Regions from separate parts of the Homo sapiens genome. Here all the other regions are linked to region 1. The links are contacts of gene promoters, found by promoter capture Hi-C in blood cells and fetal thymus (Javierre and others, 2016). All regions are on one chromosome and are shown on one strand. The core of a region is centred on a gene start or on the middle of the fragment in contact, and the rest is flanking DNA. Distances in the headings are between cores, read along the strand shown. Region 1 holds the start of KIAA0825. Region 2 overlaps ARRDC3-AS1 (ARRDC3 antisense RNA 1). Region 3 overlaps ARRDC3 (arrestin domain containing 3). Region 4 overlaps RGMB (repulsive guidance molecule BMP co-receptor b). Region 5 has its middle 5.0 kb from the start of LYSMD3.

The links. Contacts are between HindIII fragments. The CHiCAGO score rates a contact against its expected background, and 5 or more counts as called.
Region 2: a contact is called between a fragment that was not itself captured here and the fragment with the promoter of KIAA0825 in region 1, in 1 of 17 cell types (total CD8 T cells). The highest score is 5.0, in total CD8 T cells.
Region 3: a fragment that was not itself captured here is called in contact with the fragment with the promoter of KIAA0825 in region 1 in 1 of 17 cell types (non-activated CD4 T cells); the score reaches 5.8 in non-activated CD4 T cells.
Region 4: a fragment that was not itself captured here is called in contact with the fragment with the promoter of KIAA0825 in region 1 in 1 of 17 cell types (total B cells); the score reaches 5.1 in total B cells.
Region 5: a fragment that was not itself captured here is called in contact with the fragment with the promoter of KIAA0825 in region 1 in 1 of 17 cell types (non-activated CD4 T cells); the score reaches 6.6 in non-activated CD4 T cells.

The regions. Positions count from the first base shown.
Region 1 is chr5:94,616,242-94,620,833 of GRCh38, forward strand. It overlaps KIAA0825, which reads right to left and starts at 2,363. Exons shown (of 21, transcript NM_001145678.3): 1 at 2,259-2,363. SLF1 (SMC5/6 complex localization factor 1) reads left to right here and starts at 2,428. Exons shown (of 21, transcript NM_032290.4): 1 at 2,428-2,524. RefSeq lists enhancers at 1,377-2,241, 1,980-2,159, 2,470-2,649, 3,040-3,149. The HindIII fragment of the contact is 3,766 bases long and covers 1,700-4,592 here.
Region 2 is chr5:91,395,775-91,400,219 of GRCh38, forward strand. The region is part of intron 1 of ARRDC3-AS1 (ARRDC3 antisense RNA 1); the gene reads left to right. Among named protein-coding and RNA genes, the nearest start is that of ARRDC3, 15 kb to the left of the region's middle. The HindIII fragment of the contact is 3,910 bases long and covers 1-3,654 here.
Region 3 is chr5:91,367,944-91,372,166 of GRCh38, forward strand. It overlaps ARRDC3 (arrestin domain containing 3), which reads right to left. Exons shown (of 8, transcript NM_020801.4): 8 at 688-3,513. The coding sequence ends at 3,457. Among named protein-coding and RNA genes, the nearest start is that of ARRDC3-AS1, 10 kb to the right of the region's middle. The HindIII fragment of the contact is 850 bases long and covers 2,145-2,994 here.
Region 4 is chr5:98,779,993-98,784,472 of GRCh38, forward strand. RGMB (repulsive guidance molecule BMP co-receptor b) reads left to right here. Exons shown (of 3, transcript NM_001366508.1): 2 at 1-96. Among named protein-coding and RNA genes, the nearest start is that of RGMB, 8.6 kb to the left of the region's middle. RefSeq lists an enhancer at 1-321. The HindIII fragment of the contact is 187 bases long and covers 1,177-1,363 here.
Region 5 is chr5:90,532,449-90,536,683 of GRCh38, forward strand. No RefSeq gene overlaps it. Among named protein-coding and RNA genes, the nearest start is that of LYSMD3, 5.0 kb to the left of the region's middle. The HindIII fragment of the contact is 7,271 bases long and covers 1-4,235 here.

The sequences.
Region 1 (4,592 bases), core at 1,113-3,612:
GTAAAACAGGATATTCTTTAGAATTAACTTCTATGTCATTTCTAGTATTGGTCATTTCAACTAAATTTTTGTAAATTCTCTGAAAATTAGGCTATTTCTGTTTCTCTATATAGAATTGGGTATTGGGATGGGCAGGTTTAATAAAGCATATTCCTGAAACTATGTGATAATCCCCATCTGTTTGAGGGTTACGTGAGTGGAACAGCACAGTTTTGCTAATAATTCCTTATAAATCATTACAAAGTTGAATTTTATGAATTTGTGCTCATTTACTCATTCTTTCTCCCTACACACACACACACACATGCACACACAAATATACATGTATACAAATGTGTGTGTGAAAAGCTGTCTAAAGAGATAGTTAGCTGATACTCTGGACTCAGTCACCAATATGCTTGCTGATGGTCTCCAGATCTTCTGCATTTGCCCCAAGTGTTATGCTAATGTACAGTATAGGCATTTGTTTGAATTAGGATAATAAAACTGGCCAAGGATAAAGGCACTAAAGAAACTGCATTATTTAGATGTCAAAATTACCTTATGGTGATGAACACATCCCTTAAGTCCCTTTTATCCTCAAGTTTTGCTATCCACTTGATTTCTAAATGTGACATACTATCTATCCATTTTTACCTGGAGTGAAAATAATGATACTGTTATGTTTACTTATAAAGGTATAGAGCACAGTAAAAAGAGCCAAAATTTAGAGTCAGGTAGACTGGATTCAAATTTTAATTGTGCCATTTAATTGTATAATTTATGGAAAATCACAACCTCTTTGGGTCTCAGTATAAAATGTTTTGCAAAATAGAAATAATACAATTTTTGTGATTTTCTTTTTTTATTAAACATTAAATAAAATAATAAATGTAAAGTGCCTGGCAGACAGTATCTACTTGGGGTAAGTATTAATGATTGGCTACATTCAAGAGCAATTCAAAGAGAGAAATCACTGCCTCTAAAAACTAGTTGCTGTACAGATATAATACATAATATCCCTGAAGTAATTTATAATACTTTCAACTGGAGAAATAAAGAAAAAATACAAGATTCAACAAAATGTCAAGATTGGGATTAATGGGGCGATTATAAGTTTGTTGAATTATTAACCAACAAGGCCAGAAAATCAATGTGCTGTCCTAAATATGGTTTGTTGCATTACTCTCAAAAGGTTAAGAAGACACTGGCCTGGTGTTAACAGGGGCCTTGAATTGAACATATTGCATTTTTCTTTATCGGTATGCTCCGATAAAGAAAATGTTTTTATGGGTATGAGGAGCATACCCATAAAAAAAATGCAATAGTACCTACAACTCTTTCGGGAACTGACTGTTTTGAAAAAATAACAGTCAGCTGCCTTTTACGGGGGTTGGTGGGGAGGTAATTATCTAAATATAAGGTGGCAAGTGAAAACTAGTTACCTAAGAAATTGCATTACTTAAGAGAAGTCGCCAAGGTTCACTACATCACATCTTTCAAATCTTAAATGAGCACCTTTCCTCACATTATCCCTTTGTCGGAAGCAATTTCTCTTTACAACTATTCTGGCTACCTCAGACCTCCATCCAAAATTCTCCTGAATCCTTCATTATCGACAAAGCCTGGAGCAGAACGCAAGCATTCCTTTCTGAAAGCACACATACTTACTGATCACTGCTTTCCAAAAATGCATCTAATGCCCAAGCATGAAATTACAAGCTTGTTCTCTTATGTCTCAGCCATGAAAACAAAGACCGTTCTTCTCATCCAATTCAAATGGCGGGAGGAACCTTCAATTAATTCTAAATCAGGAAGGAACCTCCCCATCTCACTTCCTAAATGTTTGTAAAAGATGTCTTCTTCAGCCAACCTCCTGCCTTCCAGGCACGGCACCCCAGAACTACGGAAACAGTACTCAGGAATCAAGAGTGGCCAAACGCTGCCAATGGGAGATAGGAAACTCGTTGATCATTGGTAGAGAAACTCGGCACAACGCCGAGTCACGGTACACGGTGTCTTCGGCCTCGCCCAGGGACACTTGGTGACCCGAGGTCGAGTTCCAAGTCGGAGACAGATTTTGCGAGTGGATAAGACGGTAAGCCGGGATCCCAGGGCCTTCTCCAGCTGCACTGGGTGTCAAGCGCCACGGGGTTTGATGGGGACTCCTTCTGGTTCCACCCTCGCCCACTCACTTCTCGGGCTGGCCATAATGCTGCACAGAGCCCCGGCCAGCCATTAATATCAGGCGCAGGAGAAAACCCAGTAAAATCACTTACCAGTCTTCCACCTCCGGTGCTGATCTAGCAAGAGCCTGACCCGCTGGCCAGACTCAAGCTCTGCACCAGGTATTACCACCCTGGCGACGGCTCCGGAGCGTCACTGACAACCACCCGGAAATGGTACTATCGCTTCCGGGGCTGCCTAGCGCGCGGCGGGAAATTGTTTCCCAGAGCCCGGATTCGTGAAGCAGTTGAGTGCTGCAGCGGCAGTCGTCGCCCCTGCCGCCGCTGCCACCGAAGGAAGCATCCCAGACACCGGGAAGGTAAAGGGGCTCAGCTAGGAAGACACAGTGTATTCTGTCTCTGTGGGGATGTTTCTTCGCCGGGCGGTACCTCCGAAGTTTCTGCCTCCCGGCTGTGAGGCTAGGAAGGAAGCGGCTGGGGTGAGCGGCAGCGGTGTCTGGCTCTCGCGCTTTCTCCAGCTGCAGTTCGTTCCAGCTCTCCCGACTTCGCGCTCGGCGCCGGAGTTGGTGGGCTGCAGCTGCAGACCCCGCGACGCTTCGCCCGTGCCGCTGCGGGGACTGCCACCGAGCGCCCCTCTGCAGTACTGGGCTGAGCCACTTCCCCCGCTTCTGCTTGCGCAGCTCTGCCGCTCGGCCCGCCGCCTGGAAGGCGCTAGGCCCCCCGCGTCTCTCGTTTCCATAGAACCCATGGGGACGCCTCATCCTGATACCAGAATTTTGGCTGCTTTCCATAACTTAGCGTCTGCGAAGGTGGCTGGGATACCCCAGGCCCACTTTCCTGTGACGAAGAAAATTGTGTCATTCTTTCCTCTCTAGTAGAATTTTTTTTTTTTAAACTGCTAAAACGGCAGTGATCCTATCTCTGACTGCTATAGGCCTTTAAACACAAACATACACACATACACTTTTCGCTGAAGGGAGGGTCTGTGTTCCTGGGGTTTATATTTCAGCTGCCTGAAGGCTGGAAACAAGACTGAGTGGCTATTTTAAGATTTCTTCCACTTCCAAAGCCTCAGATTAAATATTGACAAAAAAAAAATTGGTCCGTCTCGGGTACTTCATATCATTATTTGACTCAGGAGTTAGATGGAGCTTGATTTTGGAGGCGCCAGCCTCTTTTTTGACGAATGACTTTATTAAAAAATTTTGTTGTTGTTGTTGAAATATTGGGAATGAACATTTGAACTGAATTTACAATGTATGTGTGACAGACAATGCACCTTGTGGACTTTTTGGTTTATGTTATTCCGTTGTGCCTCAATTCTTGGAAATACCTGTGGATGTGCAAGATGTTCTCATTATTGGAAAGTTTGATTACGTATATTGCAGGTGTTCAATACCTAAGTTGCTAGTATGAGGTGAATTTATATTAAAGAGTATATTTCTTTATTTTCTTTTCTTACCTTTCCTTCCTTCCTTTGCTTTCTTTCTTTCTTTGACAGAGCCTTGCTCTGTTGCCCAGGCTGGAGTGCAGTGCCTATCGGCTCACTGCAACCTCCGGCTCCCAGGTTCAAGCAATTCTCCTATCTCAGCCTCCCGAGTAGCTGGGATTACAGGTGCGCGACACCACGCCCGACTAATGTTTTGTATTTTTAATAGAGACAGGGTTTCACCATGCTGTCCAGGCTGGTCTCGAACTCCTGATCTCAAGTGTTCCGCTCGCCTCGGCCTCCCAAAGTGCTGGGATTACAGGCGTGAGCCACCGGGTAACTCTTGAGTATTCTTAATTTAAAGGAACTAGGATGTTCAAATACTTGAATGTTTAAGTCAATTTTATTGTAAAGACAGCGAACCTTCAGTACTGCAAATAAACCCCTATTCTGTTTTCTAAATCCAGATTTTATTATGCGTTATTAAGTAAAATTGAATTATATAACCTAACATTTTCTTGCTTCCCTAAAGCATAAAGCGTGGATCACGTGAAAGTCATTGAAAAGATGATCAAATGTGGTTACTTTTCATAATCAAAATTCAGAACTGAAGATTTCGTAATAAGCATCCACATTTTCCACTGATGTTCAAAAACATTGCGTTTTGGGAAACCAATAGTATAGCTTTTATTTATTAGTACTTTCCTTATTATATGTATCTTGATTATATTACCCTAAAGTAGGGTTTTCACCATTTAAATAAAACTTTTTTAGAAAGTAAAATAAAAAATTCTGTGTTGGCTTTGAATAATAAACCCTAAACAAAACGAATTCTCTCAAGAATGTAACTAAAATGAGACATCATCTGTTACTCTTGTAGTTGACTCTTTGAATATACTAATAGAAAATATATCTGTATAATGTACTATGTACTGTTTTTCACCTTATAAGGGCATGTTACTGCTTAAAAGTAAAATAACCCTGGAACTTTTAAGTTC
Region 2 (4,445 bases), core at 450-2,949, 3.2 Mb before region 1:
CCCACCTACACTGGGGAGGCCCATCTGCTTTACTCAGTCCACCAATCCAAATGCTAATCTCTTCCAGAAACACCCTCACAGACACAACCAGATAACCTTTAGCTAGATATCTGGGCATCCTGGGGCCCAGTCAAGTTGACAGATACAATTAACTACCACAGCATGTATTGGATGAAATAATTAAGTTTTAAAAACACATTTAGAATGGCATTAATTATGTACCATTCTTGAGAGAGTTGAGCAAATAGTCACTATGTGTTAGGGTTCAGCTGAAAAAGGCTGAATGATTCGATTTTGATAGGAACACTTCAGAAGTGATGCTGTTTTCTCCTCATTGATTCCTGTCAGATAATGTACAATTTTGGTTTGTCCCATTACTAATGATCATTTGAATAAAGATGTGTCTGTCTGAATTCTCAACTACTTGGTTCCCCACCCTGACCCTAGGGAATTTGTAAGTATTTTGTATGGAAGTTTTTTGAAACTTTGCAAGTATCCTATTTCTTATCAAACTTTCTATTTGTTTGTTTATTTATATGACCATTGATTCATATGAGCCTTAATTTATTGTTATTTATCTTGATCTTCAAATTGTGCCCAATTTAGCTAGTAGAAATCCCTTCAAAGTGGCTTATGACATGTCTCCATCATATTTCGACTACCTTCTTTTTTTCTGGCATATGAAACAAGCTCATCTTGTACTTCTCCTGTACTTCTTGTACTTAACAAGCTCATCTTGCAATTCCGCTGCCTAGCCCTGGAATCAGCCATTTCTCCAAGTTAGCCCTGAGTCTTTGAAGGAGCACTAGGTATACACCTTGCTTTTAGAGTGTGGTGTACTTTGAGGTTGTCCCCAGTGGAGAGAGCTATCATATATATAGATGTACATATGAATGTATAGACACACAGTTGCAAATTGCATCTATATTTCTGTCTGTCTGTCTCTATCTGTAAAACCATGAGTGTACATTGATACCATAAATTCTAATCAAACACCTCAGGGTTTGTTCTAATTTTCTCCCTTTCCATATAGGTAACCTTCTTTTTGACACTGAGAAACCAGGCTCCCATTGGACTTGTCATATTGACTTATTTGATCAATCCCCCCTGCATGTGATCAATCTCCTGTTTCCACTGTCATCCTCCCTTGAATGTGGATGCCCTCTTTCCCTACCTAGGCTCTGCCACCCTGTTTCAGACTGCCCCTCTAGTGGATGTATCCTCACCCTAACCAGGCTGGACCTCTCCATGCTGGACTGGCCTTTGTGTGGTGCCTTCTGAACCCTGTATCAGGTGGGCTTTGCTTACACACTGCTCCCACTCCCCCTTTTCCTGTGCCCCACTGTTGTAGGAAAAATATTGGTTCTTGTCACATGACCAGGAAAGATTAGGCTCACAGATACACAGAAGGGTGAGGAATGGAATTCGTTGGGTTCTGCCAACAGGCTCTCCACCTCACTGATTGAATCCCAGGTTACCACCCAGGAACAGCAGAGGCCAGACTCCTTGTCCTAAGGCTCCACTCCATCCTCCCAATGCACAGGCCAGTCAGAGAGTCTCTGGGACCGGCAGTCCAGTTTTTCAGCCTCAGGCTGTTTTAGGCTTGAAAGTGGGGTTTTGCCGGGGGACCCTTGGCTGGCTCCTTGTCTCTATCACCATCCTTTACATGCTGGGCAGATACTACTTTAATTTAGTAGAGAATGAGAAAAGAATAATAAAGCAGTAGCTAAAAGGAGACTCCTTCAGGAGTTTTTGATGAAAAAGTATGGCATTCATCATATTTACCTGTAATCGCCTTGGAGCCAATCTAGAGAGTGAGGTTAAAGATACAGAAGAGACAGAAGTAATCGATAAAGCCACTTCTCTCAGAAGGAAGAAAGGGATAGGGTCTGGTGCACAATTCTGAGGATTAGTCTTAAGTGCAAGAGAAGACTGCATTCCCACTTAAATTCAGAGTGGGAGAGAAGAATGGCTTGAATACAACTTGGTTTGAGAGTCTTCTGGCCGGAAGAAGAGTGAATTTCCATCCCATGGCTTTTACTTTATTTGTGCAGACATTGCTGAAAAGGAGTGATCTAGTTGGAGATTAAGGAGATTGAAGAGAATTCTGAAAATCCTGTGGAGAATGAGAAGTGAAATGAGCAGGAAACCAGAAAGGCTTCTGATCACTATGGAAAACCTAACTGAGAATAGAAACTGAAAATGAATTCAGACACCAACCCTAATGACTGTCAGGTTTTCTCCAGCAGCCCCCAGGGCTGGTAGTGGAAAAGGCAGTTTTTTATTAGGCAAACAGTTAAGTAGAAATACCTAGGACAAGTAAGTTGAGGATATTGACTAGGGAGAGCTTGAATTGAAGGAAATGGATGTTGAAATATTGAAGAGTTCTGTAAAGTATTAGGAAAGTAAAGAGAGATGGAATCTGGAAGAAGGACAGTAGATGGGTCATGTCCTATCCCAAAGGTTTTTGTGTGGTTTAGTCTTAAACAATCAGAAACCAACTCTAACTTAAGGGTGAAGTGGAGGTTGGGAAGTGGAGTTTGTTATAAATATATCAGGTAGCTCACAGATTTAAAACTCAGTCTGAAGAAAAAATCATGCTTCAGCGATATAGAAACTATTGCAGCTTTGGTGTCCAGGGTTTTAGAAAGTAATGGACACCTTCAGTATCACTACTGGGAAAAATTAGTTCTACTATTTGTTCATTCTTGTTACTGCTTAGGGTTCAAATACTGAGAAGAAAGGTTAAGATTTAAATGATCTTGCTTAGATTTTGTGCCCACCCCCTTGGGCAGGAGATTGACTATTCTATCAAGACTATATGAAATTGGCTGGGTGCGGTGGCTCACGCCTGTAATCTCAGCACTTTGGGAGGCTAAGGCAGGTGGATCACTTGGGGTCAGGAGTTCGAGACCAGCCTGGCCAACATGGTGAAACCCGGTCTCTACTAAAAAAATACAAAAATTAGCTGGTCATAGTGGTGCACACCTGTAATCCCAGCCATTCAGAGGCTGAGGCATGAGAATCACTTGAACCTGGGAGGTGGAGGTTGCAGTGAGCTGAGCTCATGCCACTGCATTGCAGTCTGGGTGACAGGGTGAGACTCCATCTCAAAAAACAAAAACAAAAACAAACACAAACAAAAAACCCCAAAAAAGACTATATGAAATGGAGTTTGGGAAGTTCCTCAAAGGAAAACAGAGATGCCGTTTACAGAAGAAGGAGAATGGAAGCAACACTGGCAAAACCAACAGATGCTCAGCATTTGTAGATTTTGTGTGTGGGTACTGAGCTTATGCAAATAAAGCATGAGTTGGTATGAAGAGGGAGACATTGAATAAAATACTAATTCTTTTTAAAGTTTAATTTTTCTGAATTACAAAATAATACATGTACATTGTAAAAATAATTAAAACTATCCACCTTCTCTGATCTTTAATTAATATGGATTAATGACCAAAATATTGCTATATATGATAGCAAAGGGCAGAAGCAGGTAGGAAGTGATAGATTAATTTGAAATCACTGTCTGAACATTTTCTATGGTCTAGATTCCGTCGCGTACACGGTGGATATGAAATGAGAGTTTGTTCTCTTGCTCATAAGTACAAGTATGAAATGGTGCTTTGAAAACTAAGATCATATACACAGCCAAGCTTTATAGTACTAAAAATGTCTCCTTTTGAGAAATATATAGATAAGTTTGTGTCTTCAACTTATATAATGCAATCAAATATGAATATAGTTTTAAACTTATTTTGAAATATGCTTACATAAGCCCTATATTTCACTTTGGTTTTGTTGTTGTTGTTTTTTTCCATTGTCTACTATTATGAAGACTATGTATAACTTTTCCCCAAAAACACACCCCTTCCAGCCTGCTTTAGAAAGTCAACATTTTAGTATAACCAGTATTATTGAGTACATTCTACTTAGTATATAGTAATACAGTAATGTTTGTTTTTCCTCCAATCACAATTCTCAATAGTGCTTTGTAGAGAGTCTCTCAAGACAATTTCTTGGTCACATTCCACAACTTTCTCATCATTTTTAGTTATTAAAAACACAAAACAAAGCCAAACTAATTTCACTCCAGTGTAAAAATTCAATCTTAAGTCTGATTCAAATACAATCTCCTCAGCTCCCTTTATTAGTATCTGACTCCTTTGTCAGGGAGGAGGAATATTAGAGATGGTGGGGTTGCTTATTGGAGATGAGGCAGTGTCTTTCCCCTCAAGACTTTGTATGATTTTATTGCTGTTGGTGGTCTCATAACTTGTTGCAATTTTTAGGATTGTTTAGCTTCATCTTGATTCACTGTATCAATGAGGATGTCTGCAGAGAGAGGGGCCCATGTCTCCCTTTAGTTTTGCCTTTGGTGTGCATTCTAACTCCATTAAGAAGCAGCTGTTAGGTAACCCCAGGGCTTGTGCTTTTCTCCTCCC
Region 3 (4,223 bases), core at 1,320-3,819, 3.2 Mb before region 1:
TTAGGCCGGGCGTGGTGGTTTGTGCCTGTAATCCTAGCACTTTGGAGGCCAAGTAGGGTGGATCACTTGAGTCCAGGAGTTTGAGACCAGCCTGGGCAACATGGCAAAATCTCATCTCCACAAAAAACACAAAAATAAGCTGGGCATGGTGGGGCATGCCTGTAGTCTCAGCTACTTGGGGGTCTGAGGCAGGAGGATTGCTTGAACCTGGGAAGTCAAGGCTGAAGTGGGCCGAGATCCTGCCACTACACTGCAGCCTGGGTGACAAAGTGAGACACTCTCTTAAAAAAAAAAAAAACTATGTTATGTTTATGTACTCTTGAAATACTGGTAATTTGAACACAACACAGTGAGAAGGAATTGGTGCCTGAAAGTGAATTATTTTACCTGGTTAAGTTTGCTTCATATTTAAGATTGAAATTTAGAGTCTGGACATGGTGTCTCACGCCTGTAATCCCAGTGCTTTGTGAAGCCAAGTTGGGAGGATCGCTTGAGGCCCGAGTTTGAGATCAGCTTGGGTAACATAGTGAGACCACGACTACAAAAAAATTAGAAAATTAGGTGGGTGTGGTGGTGTGCACCTGTAGTCCTAGCTACTTCGGAGGTTGAGACAGGAGGACTACTTTAGCCTAGGAGTTGGTCAGTAATTTTCTTTAGTACAGACCTAGATACAATTCTTACCCAGAATGGCTTAAAATAGAGTTTAATAGTTTAATTTAATGTGTTTGCATGTATGGTGAGTTACTAATATGATCAAGATTCAAATAAATCTCCAAACAATTATACAAAACAGAAAAAAACAAAACACTTTATTTTCCACAAGGAAGAGCAATAGGAAAAATTAAATCATTTCCCACATATTGTTTTCTTAAAACAGAGCCTACAAGGACATATTCAGCACCAAATAAAAAAGGAAAAAAAGAGAAATTACAAACAGCCATAGAATATAATCTATAAAGCAAACATTTAATATTGCACTTTGTTTTGCTAACATTTTGGATTTTACTTTTCCTAATTGAAAAATCAGGAATCTATCTTGAATACTGGAATACAACTGTGAACCTCACATCTTATGTCAGGAATTGACCAATATTTTTAAAAAAGTAATGCCTCTAAAGAAATACATTTTAAAGGGGAAAATAAAACTTTATTTGATAAAGTTTTATACATTTAAAGTTTTATCACATTTTGTGATCCAGTGCCAATTATCAGAATATTGGTCATTCTTGCTTCATGTGTTATTTGTAAGAGTATATAATGACAAGTATTCCAATGCTATGCATATCAACAATTGTTCCCTAGTCAGTTAGACGTAAGAGAGAAAAGGGATTTTCTGACAATCCCCCTCAAACAAAAATAAAACCACCAAATGCCCTTTATGCCAAATATTCCATTAGCTTTTTTTGAGGGGGACATTCACAAAATGATTCAACAATAAAAAAATATTTCACCCCCATTTCCTTATTATCTAGTATTAGTTTGCTACGGGAGCCCAAACTCTTTAACCGAATCACTTAAAACGCGATTCATTTTTACACTGGGCTTTCTTCACCCTGTCAGCATTTGTCAAACATGAATTGTCTTCCATGTTTTCTTAAAGGCCACTTATGGAAAAGCCTATTTGTTTTGTATGAGCTTTAAGACAGTATTTAACCAGGTCAAGCACCAAGCCAGAGCTACTATTATTTTCAGCCACTTTATTAACTGTGGGGTTAAATGGCAGGATAGATGTAACACCCATTTTACACGTATGTTGCAACATCAGAGATGCTGGTTTTCTTTAAAAACATCAGAGCTGAATTCCTTCTAAAATACAACAACAACAACAACAACAAAATAAGTACACTTGGTACCTTGGAAAATGCTGAAATGCTATCATGAATGCTGGTATATTTGTTATGAGCCAACAGAAAATTACCTTTAATATAAACTATAACTTACTGATGTGATTGTTCTTCCTATGTAATCTATACATAATCAAAGTGAGTGATTTCTCATGTTTAGCAAATTGTTCTTTAGGTAATGAAAAACAGTATTCTCATTAGAAAAACACAAAAATCCAAAAGATTTATCGCAGCAAACGTTCTAGTATTTTAAATTTTGAAGTTACTTTTGGAATAAAGTCGAGTTTTCATGCCATACCAAGCTTGAGCAAGACAGCAAAGGTACAAATTGAGCTCTCTATTCATAACCTCAATGTATGTATTCCTGCTCATTAATATACTTTGCACCAGCAAAAGCGATTTCCAACATATGTGTTTTGGAGGTAATTAAGTAACTCTGTATAAAAATAAATGCACTTTTCCCTCCTTTCCCCAGTGAATGGAAAACTTCCATACTTTCAAAATAATAATAAAAAAAATAATTTTTAAGAGCAACAGCCCTCAACTCTTTGCTGGTGCCTGCCATACTGCCTTTCTTCACTCCATTCTTAGCTCTGCTAGTTTCTTCTTGTATGTCATGATAAAAAGGGAATGTGGGTGTGTAACTTTTGTGTATGTCCCGTTTCCAAATTTCCCTCTCCAAAAAGCCAACCAAATAAACAAACAAACAAACGAAAAAAACAGTGCAACAAAACACAAATAGCATTCCAACAGTTTGGCAAGTGATGCGTTCACCTGAGATTAAGTGATTTTAGGCAGTCAGTAACAAAATGCTGCTTTGCTGTAATAGTAGAAAGGCAACAAATTCTTAAAAGAAACCAAGAAGGTATACAATCTTGACAGTCTCTTATTAGCTTCCTCCTCTTATCTCTTTTTTTCCCACATTATCTGTTGCGTATCTACTACAGTAGGCTGCAAAACATACAGCAAAAAGGATTGGCTTGAAGGCATTTGATGTTTGTAAATAAATCCACAATTGGATCCAAGCTGAAGAGGTGATACATAGTCAGCCTAGTAGACAATTCTGAGCATGTGCATACGCAGGTAAAGTCCAGGCTATATTAAATAAAAAAAAATGTCAGTGCGTTTTTTCATGTTAAAGTTTTTTCAAAGCTTTGTTTTGTTCCTTGTTGTGCTGACCACAAACAAGTTTTAAGAGTATCAAGAGTCTGGCAAAAATAGAAAAAAAAAAAAAAAAAAAAAGAAGCTGTAGTGACGTCGAACCGCACAATGTAAGCATTGAGCATGTGCAAATTTTCAAATCAAAAGAAGGAAATCATCCCTCTTTACAACGTGATGTCTTGACACGTACGACCATAGGCTAAGAAGACTGCTCTGAGTATGTGCCAGTTTTAAAAGAGAAAAGCTTAGATCTTCAAGCATGTTGGAGCAGTCTCAGAATGTTGCTGTAGGCTTCTAAAGCATGATCACTGGTTGTTTCATGTATTCGCCATTTTTCTGGGCAAAAGTAATTCCACTTCCTCTGAAACGTGTCTCCAAGATACTTCTCTGTCCTCAGCCGGAAGAGATACAGTTCGGAACCCACATCAACTTGATTCAACCAAGTGTTCCTTCAACGAGAGGGGCAGGATGGTCTATCATCTGCTGACTGATCAGGATTTGGATCAATCTAGAAAGAAATGAGAAAAAAAGTTTACAGAGTTATTTCATGAGGTCTAGGAAGAATGTAGCAAATGACTACAATTCTGAATACTAGTCAAGAAATGTAATCAGAGAGCAAACACAGCTTGTTAGCATATTATATCCAATTATTCTCTTTTCATACGTGAAATGCTATGTGGGGAGGAAAGGGTGTTGGTACCTACAGTACCTGATATTTAATTACTAGATTAACAAGCTTTATAAAGGCATGTCTGAATAGTCCCCTATTTCACAAAAATTAACAGTAAAATTTTATCAGTGAATGAAGACTTTTACTCAGTACTTTAGTAGTACTTAATTAAGACCTAAATACACAACGTAGAATATCTTCATAGCAATCATCTTCTTTTGTAAAGCACCCCTTTCATCCTTCTACAAAAAAGTTAACTCATCGCTTCCTCTGACTTTGGAAAAATGAAATCGTATAAACAATGCTCTTTGTTTATACAATGTGCAAACAATTTGTTTACTCACATGAACAATGTGCTTATGTGAGGTAATAACTCATGGGTGTAAAATCCCACAGAGGGCCAAAAACGCAGTGTATCAGGAAATAAAACTGCTGAACCCAAAACACTCAAGAGGTTTCCTCCCACCTTCTTTATCTTCAGAGTGACTTTTATATGCACATATTTTTAATGAAAAGTTGCTTCTCAAGTACAAAGAGAATGGTCATAG
Region 4 (4,480 bases), core at 20-2,519, 4.2 Mb after region 1:
GAAGGGGCCTGGCCACTCATAGATAATAATTATCTTTCAGTTCAAGTGACAAACGTACCTGTGGTCCCTGGATCCAGTGCTACTGCTACAAATAAGGCAAGTATACCTTCTTTTTTCCCTCTCCCTACTCAACTTTCAAAAGATGTTTGATTCTTCAGATAACTTTTGAAATGTGCTATAAAGGGCCTAGTTTAAAAGGAACTTCTTTTGAAAAGCAATTAACAGTTGATAAAGGGTTAAATAAAAATTATCTAGTAAGGAATTTCTTATTGGAATGTAAACGTGGTTCTAATTTTAAATAGACAGTGATATAAAGAATAAAAAGTAAACAGTGAAATTGAGTTCTCCAGGGAAAAGGCAGACCTGTTTAGTAAAAAAAGGATGCTTTTTTCAGTGATGTCTTTTTTTGAGTGCATATGTGTGTGACTCTTGAAGAAATCCATGTTCAGATTTATCAGATGATTGAAGTGGGTGTTCTGAATAAAGAAAGCTGTGAGGCCTGAGGCAGTGACGTATCAGGAAACATATTTTATTGGAGATTTGGAAGCTATAGTAAAACATAATGGCAATAAGCCAACTTCCCAGTGGTAAACCCACAGTGGTGGTTTAGTTACTAACCTCTTGATGACCGAGGAGGTTAATAATTGGATATTGCAGAGCAGCAATATGTAACCTGTGTGTAATCTCAGGGCCTCAGGTTAACAGTTTCAGTCAGAAGCTAAGAGAAACACTGACAAAATTTAGCTTACCATGACTAGCTGCCAGTTTATGTGGTCTGTGTTCGTTTGTTTTAAAGAAACTAATACTGTACAGAGATCTTTGACACCAACTTCAAGGCACCAGTGTTTAGTGCAAGCAGGTAGAGAGGACCTATGAACTAGGTTTCTAATTGGCAGTCAGTGCTAATTCAGCCATTAGTAAGTAAAGTCACTTTTCCACTAAAATAGTGTCCCGACTAACCACCTCCTTCCGTGTCTTTTCCAACCACAAAACCACACACATAGACCATCTCATCTTACTTTATTTCTTGCATTTATTGTATCCAAAAAAATTGGTTTAGTTTTTTAATGTAATTGACAAGACTCAAGCTTTTGAAATACTTACGACTGTTCTCTTGATTCCAGGACACCCTCCCCTGTGTCTAAACATGTGTGGTATACTTTTTAAATAAATTAAAGCTTATTTTACTTGGCATTTTGTGGAGGGAATTTTACAACACCTCGGGAGATATCTGCAGACACCCTGGGGTGTCACAAATTTAAGACTAGAAGTCATTGCCCTAATCAAAGACGACTGTTACACTGGTCTAGACATCTTAGGGGAACTCCAAAATGTTTATACTTCAACTCTCAGTAAAAGCTCAAGCTTGTCTTTTGCCTTACCAAATTCCATATCTCAAAATAAACTTTTCTCCCTCTGGTTTTTGTATGTACTCAAATCATTTTTTTATAAATATCTCAGAATATGTATTTGCTATAAATTATATATAAAGTTATAGAATTATGAAGTTATAAGAGAAACGATGGCCCCAAATCCATCATTACTGCAGAGTCATATGGCACATGAAAGCTGGGAATAGTCTTTGGGTAACTGAAAGAAGGCAGTCCATTGAGAATGGAAAAAGTCATCAATTGTGCAAATAATTGAGGACTTGGCAGAGTGACCTTCGAACAAAACTATAGAGATTAATCAGAGCTTGTAAATGGGGAAATACTCATTCTCTTCACAAGAAGCAGTATTCAAATTTTATTCTTCATGCCTTCCATCCGGTCATGTCACTTCTGTTATTCAGTCTTTCAGAATTCTATTGTTACTGATTATGGTGAAAATATGTGGGGGATAACCTTATGAATATTGCTATATATATGGAACAGTTTACACTGAAGTATTTAAGATCATTTTATTTCAGTTGAATTCTGTTGTAATTTTTAGCAAATAAATAAAAAGGACAATCTTGTTTTCTCCCTCAGTTTGGAATAAGGATCAAAGGTTTTACCCATTCAAAAAAAGTTGGAGAAAGTGGTCCTCTGACATAAATTCAAGTAGATGATGAGAATGCTTGGTCTTTAATTGCACTATTGGAAGGTATTTTCCCACATCTGGTGACCATGCTGTTCAGCAGCAAACTATTCTGTAGCCTCACTTCACAACCTCTAGGAGTTGTTGGGTTTGGTTCCCCATCCCCCTTCTCTTTGTAACTCTCTCCAAAGCCCCATAAGCATCTGGAAGGTTGCTCTTGAAGACCTGTCTCAATACTAGTATGACGTGTGCTGGTGAAACCAAAGAAAGGCCTAAATCTTACAATACGTTCCTTTTACCCAGCCAGGACCAAAATAAAACCTTTAAAAACCTTCAGCACAAAAAAGTGGTGGTGATAAAAATAAAAACAATAAGAGGCATAAAAGTGCTTATAAAATAAGTTCTAAACAAGATCTGAAATTTTCCCTTAATGTCTACCACCATACTTTCTTTAAAAAATCTTTTGAAAAATTTTTTCATGGAAATCCCAGCTTTACTGAGAATTTAAGCAAGTGCATAGACCAGTTGTTGGGTAACCTAGTACTGTGCCTTGTAGATACCAGATCATCCTTGTGTGGTCAAGTGTTTTTAATAACCCACGTGCTCAGTGCCACTAGATTGAAAGACTGATGTCATTGGCTAGCTGGCCAGCTGTGATACTGAAATTTTCGGAAACATCCATTCATTTCGCTCCCTTTAACACTGCACTGAAGCACTAGACCCCAGGGTATTTTGCTCAATGAGGCTACTAAGACAGCTTCTCAGTCCTGGGAACCTGGCCTCTTGAGCAAGCCGTCTTCAAGCCCAACTTTGTGAGCTCTGCCTGTTCCTAGGTACCCCCCTTTTCCTTATCACAAAAAGACAAAGTGGGGGAAAAATCTAAACACCATAGAATGAAATGAAGTCACCCGGGGCCATATATTAGCTAAGCCTTTTCTTTTTCTCTACATGGCAAGCAGTGAGTTCAAGGCAGACATGCCTGCGGTGCTTAATGATGTTGCCTCATCTCCCCTGGTCTACTGTTTTCTTCCCCACCATGGCCCTCTCCTCCCCTTCCTTGGGAAAGGTAGGGTTTGTTTTCCTGTTGGTCATGGTGTGCACAGGTATGCTTTCTCAAGGCCTCTGTGTTTTTAGTTTTGCCCTGTGCCTGCCTCCCTCTCTTTGGAGGAACCTGTGCCAGTTGGCTACCTTGCCAGGTAGATGTGTTTCTGAAGGGGAAGCCAGGGCTGGTTTTTCATCTCTCCACCCCGGGGGCTGCAGGGGTGTCTGGCACACACACATACCTCGGCTGACATCCACATCAGCTCTGGGCCATCTTCCCCACCTTTGGCTGTGAGAGGCGGCTACAGGCATGTAGGCACTCAGAATGAGATGAGAGGGACAGGCTCTGAACTGGCAGAGTTAGCTACACTGAGAAGAAAGGCAGGTTTTGTTTTGCAGGAGGAAGTAGCCCACCCTTCACAGGCTCCAGAGAGGGCACATGTCAGTAGTTGTCCTGTGCCTCACACACTCAAGATAAACCAGATGATCTGTTTTGAGGATGCTTGACTTCTTCCATGTTATTTTTGCCAACCTCTCAGTCTCAACTCTTGTTCATTCATTCTGTGGATCTTTATATCTCTGTTTAAGTGGGTTCAATAAGAATCTGTATATGCCATGATCACAGAAGGTGATTGGGGAATAAATTTTTTTATGAAAGATTCTGCACTTTGCAAATGTATTCCCAATAGCATATATTAAAATTGCCAGTCTCCAGGGAATTCAAAAGTATTCCTTTTTCAAAAACAATTCTGAAATTCATTTATTATTAAGTTGCATACCTAAACAAACAATGGAAATGTTTTTAGTAATTATTTTTGTACAAGTAGTTTGAATGCCTTCATTTTATTTTTCCTTTTGTTTTAATGTGGTTGTATCCTTTTTCACCACTCTTGCTTTCTTATTCTATCCTTCCACCTCAGTAACACAAAATAAAAAGTAGGAGTGGAGACTGGGGATGACAACAGGTCCTACTGCAGATCTTCTGCTACACATTTTACTGTGCCTCACCCTTGAGTGAGAGAAGGTAGTTTACCTTAAGGCGTTTGAATTTGGGAAAGGGCTGTGCTCATCGTACTTGACCAAGCAAGATGACTGTTAGGCAGATGGACAGATGCTCTGAGGTGCCTATCTTGTACGTTTTTGGTGCTGCCAACGGCCACCAGCTCCTGGCAATCCTATGGGCAGCACTCATCGCCTGTCCAAAGCATAGTAGCATACCCATCATGCATTATGGATAGTCTAAATTCCATACTTACCCCTGAATTTCAAATTCTGTAGCTACTTTCTTGGGAATTCTTGAAAATTTCCGCTGGTTGAAGATACTAGAGATGTAGAAAGACTTAGTTTGGTTTGCTTTTGGTTAATGTCTTCTTCAAACTCTGTAACCTACAGTTTTCCATTGTAAGAAACACCATTACCT
Region 5 (4,235 bases), core at 619-3,118, 4.1 Mb before region 1:
TGCTCTTTTACTCTCTCCTCCTTCCTATTATTCCTATTTCTATCCTTATAGCAGCCTTTTCTATCCAGCTTCTACTTTTCAGAAGCAGAACTAGAAAGAACTGTTGGACAATAAGGAAATACTTTAAGTAATCTCAGATGAAGTTAAAATTGGATTATGGAGTGAAACTTAAAAAAAAAAAAAACTCCCACATCTCTGATCTTCAAATAACCTATGTAGAGAGAAAATTATTGTGTCTCTTCTCTCGAAGTGTTGGAAAAAAACAGACTGGATGATTTGGATATGTTCTGCTAGCAGGTGTACCACATGACCTCTCTAGCTGCCTTTAATCCTGTGATTTTTAAACATAATGATTATTGTAATCATGGCTTTGCCATAATGTGGACAAAAGAAGAGTCAGATATACTTCAGGAATCCAAAGCTGTTTATAAATGCTAGTAATTAATTCATGGATCTTAAACATGACTTGAAAACAACCATCTTCAAGTCTTCATCCATGCAGACACGATGAAAACTAGCCTCACAAATACTATCCTTATACTCTTTAGCTAGGTGGTTGGTACATGTAGAAAGGAACAGTTACATCTTTATATTTAAGTAGACTATAATTTGAAATGCTTTGTTTCCCATGTCTCTTATAATCACTACTGTCACATAGGCAAATCAGTGCAGGTGAATTCCCCCAGAACCTGCATCCTGCTTGTTTTCGTGCCTACTTCTCCAGAGATTTAAGATGATAAGACAGTATGTAATTAAGTTCACTAAACCAAAGGAAAACCTGAGGCATGACCCAGTCTATGGAATTGGGTGATGATAGATAGTGATCACCCAGAAGTGGAGAGCAAGTCAAAATGGAGTACAGAGAGTGGACGTCCAGTTTGATTTCTTAGGTCTTCAGCAGTGCATTCACAGAGACAGGAAAGATAGGGAGTGGGGAAGAATAAAAGGATAATGGGAGAGGCAACAGCATCTTCTCTTTCTAGTCTAGGTCTTTCCAGATAGAGACCACTTCTGTGACAATCCTCAGCTTAGTCAACACTATCTGACAAAACCAAGCAAGAATTTCAAAAGCAAAACTTCCGTGCTCATTTAAAGAATAATAGTGAGGTGTACATGCATACCTAAAATGAAGGTAGTTGCTTATCTGACAAAATATAGACAGAAATTACATCTGTTCATTCAACAAATGTTAATTAAGCAGCAACTGTGTTTCAAATCCTGCTTTAATAAAGCATCAGGGACATGCAATGAACAAACAAACCCAAATCTTTGCCCTCTTGGAGCTTATGTTCTTGTGATGAAAGATAAAAACAAAATAAATAAATGAAATTGTGTTAGATGGTGATAAGTGAATGGAGGAACACTGAATAGGGTAGGAGCTGCAGTGTTTTGGGTTGGGGGAGAGTCTCCACCCTATGAAAATTCTCTATCCCTGAGAGAGGAACTGTGCCTAGAGTATTGGAGGAACAACAAAGATACCAGCATGGCTGGAGCAGATTGCCGAAGCAGCGAGCAGTAGGAGAAGAGGTCAGATAGAGCCAAATGGGAAAGGACTCTGTCAGCCACTGCAAGGACTTGGGCTTTCACCCTGAGCAAGATGGGAAACGATTGGAGGGTTCTGAGCAGAGGAGGTCATCATCTACCCTTTAAAAGGATCCCATAGGAAAGTGGAGGCAGCAGCAAGGAGATCAGTTAAGAGGAAATTGTAGTAATTCAGGCAAGAGGGAAGATGTCTCAAATTAGGGAAAAACATCAAGTATCACATTGATGTGGGTTAAAAATACTTGATTTAAGAATTTTTTCAAAGCCCCCGACTCTATGAGGATGCTCAATTTTAGTTTTAAAGATATTTTTCACTAGTTCCTTCTTGCATACTTTGATTAGTGACTCTGTACTAGGGCCTGTTTTCCACATTAATTCTAAATAAGCCAGATTTACCACTGTAGCAATTGTTGGATCTAAGTAAAGTTTCCATTCTGCCCTCTCACCATGTTTTCTTTTATTTACAGTTAAGATTGAGCTGAATTTTTTCCCCTTATTCCAAGCCTTAATCCTATCTGGCTTCTAAATCCCTTCAGAATTATTTGAAGCAAAGAATGCCTGCTGATTTCAAAAAACATTTTACACTTGGACTTACTTGATGGGGTATATAGCAAGGGTCGTGGAGGCTTCCTTCCTTTCCATGCAGAAAAATGTGTTTGGAAATGTATATACTAATCAATGAGCAATCTGTTAGTAAGAAACATACAGAAGCTCATTTCTTTGATTTGTTGTTTTGAAAAGTACTTATTTTTCTTTGGAGTATTTTTCAGTTTAAAATCTAATCTGTTATTTTGTAGAATAATCAATTTATATTAGTTGAAACTTGATTAACTTTCCTTTTATTACCCTGTCCTTAAGATCATACTACAGATTTGGTTATATATCACATAACAATATAAATGAACACTTGTTTTATAAAGATTTCTAATTCTATTGTTTCAGTCATTTCATTGAAAGATAAATATTACTACACCAATCTTCTAAGGAAAATTTCTTGTGTGTTATTCCTGGCTTTGTATAAGATAATGTTTATAGGCATTGTATGTAATGCTGATGCAATAGAAGGCATTATATTTAAAAAGAATGGCTTTACTGTATACAAATATTAGGATTGCTTGTAAGGCAAAGCCATAAAAGCATTGCGTAATCTATTCTAATAAAATAGATACGCTAGCCCTTTGACTTTATTTGGTTTTAGCAACTGAACAGGATAGAGTTTCGAAATGAATATGGTGAAAATAGACAAAAGGATTTATAGTAAATTTTTTCCTCCTGCTCTGTGTTACCTCCCATGAGCCTTGTTCACCTTTTTCTCAATATCTGCCATTACTCATTAAAATTCTGGTTTCATAAAAACTACAAGTAGAGACTGCTGTTGCTTGTTGTATGTGTGTAATGACAGCACTCAAATGCATTGCTAAAGGACTGGAAAACACAAGCAAGGATTATGATAAGAATGGTAACAACAACCACTTTCAACATGTATAAAGTTAAGGCAGTCTGCGCAAAACTGACATTTTGATAACTATACAAGGTGTTGTCAAAGTATGATCTCAGAACCCCTGCCAATCCCCAAGACTCCTTAGTAGGGTCCTCAAGTACTTTCACAATAATTCTAAGAAGTTATTTGCCTTGTTCACTGGGTTATCACTTGCACTCAGGTTACTCTTGTACAGCCATGGGAGATGAGCCCACAGAGAGCCAAATGGGATAGGACTTTGTTAGCCACTGCAGGGACTTGGGCTTTCACTCTGAGCAAGACGGCAAACAACTGGAGGGTTCTGAGCAGAGGAGGTCATCATTTACCTTTTAAAAGAATTTAATAGGAAGGTTAGGGCAGCAGCAGAGAGATCAGTTAAGAGGCAATTGCAGGCAGATGCGGTGGCTCATGCCTGTAATCCCAGCACTTTGGGAGGCCGAGGCGGGCGGATCATGAGGTCAGGAGATCTAGACCATCCTGGCTAACACGGTGAAACCCCGTCTCTACTGAAACAAAAGCAGAAAAAAAAAAATTAGCCAGGCATGGTGGCAGGCACCTGTAGTCCCAGCTACTCGGGAGGCTGAGGCAGGAGAATGCCATGAACCCGAGAGGCCGAGCTTGCAGTGAGCCAAGATCGTGCTACTGCACTCCAGCCTGGGTGACAGAGCAAGACTCTGTCTCAAAAAAAAAAAAAAAAAAAAAAAGGCAATTGCAGTAACTCAGGCAAAAGGGAGGTTGACTCAAATTGGAGAGGAACACCACATACCACTTTAAAAGTGTTCCTTGATTAAGCAGTAAATATATATTTATTGTATTAAATCTCAGTCCTGGAGGCAGGATGCAGTGGCTCACACCTGTAATCTCAGCACTTTGGGAGGCTGAGGTGGGTGGATCACCTGAGGTCAAGAGTTCGAGACCAGCCTAGCTAACCTGGCAAAACCCCGTCTTTTCTAAAAATACAAAAATTAGCTGGGCGTGGTGACATATGCCTGTAGTCCCAGCTACTTGGGTGGCTGAGGCAGAAGAATCGCTTGAACCCCGGAGGCGGAATTTGCAGTGAGCCGAGATCGTGTCACTCCACTTCAGCCTGGGCGACAGAGTGAGAGTCTGTCTCAAAATAAATAAATAAATCAATCTCAGTCCTTGAATATATGGCTTTTATTATTCTTTCTGATGAAACGGGAAATGCACATGAAGTTCTTCTGCTGCATGT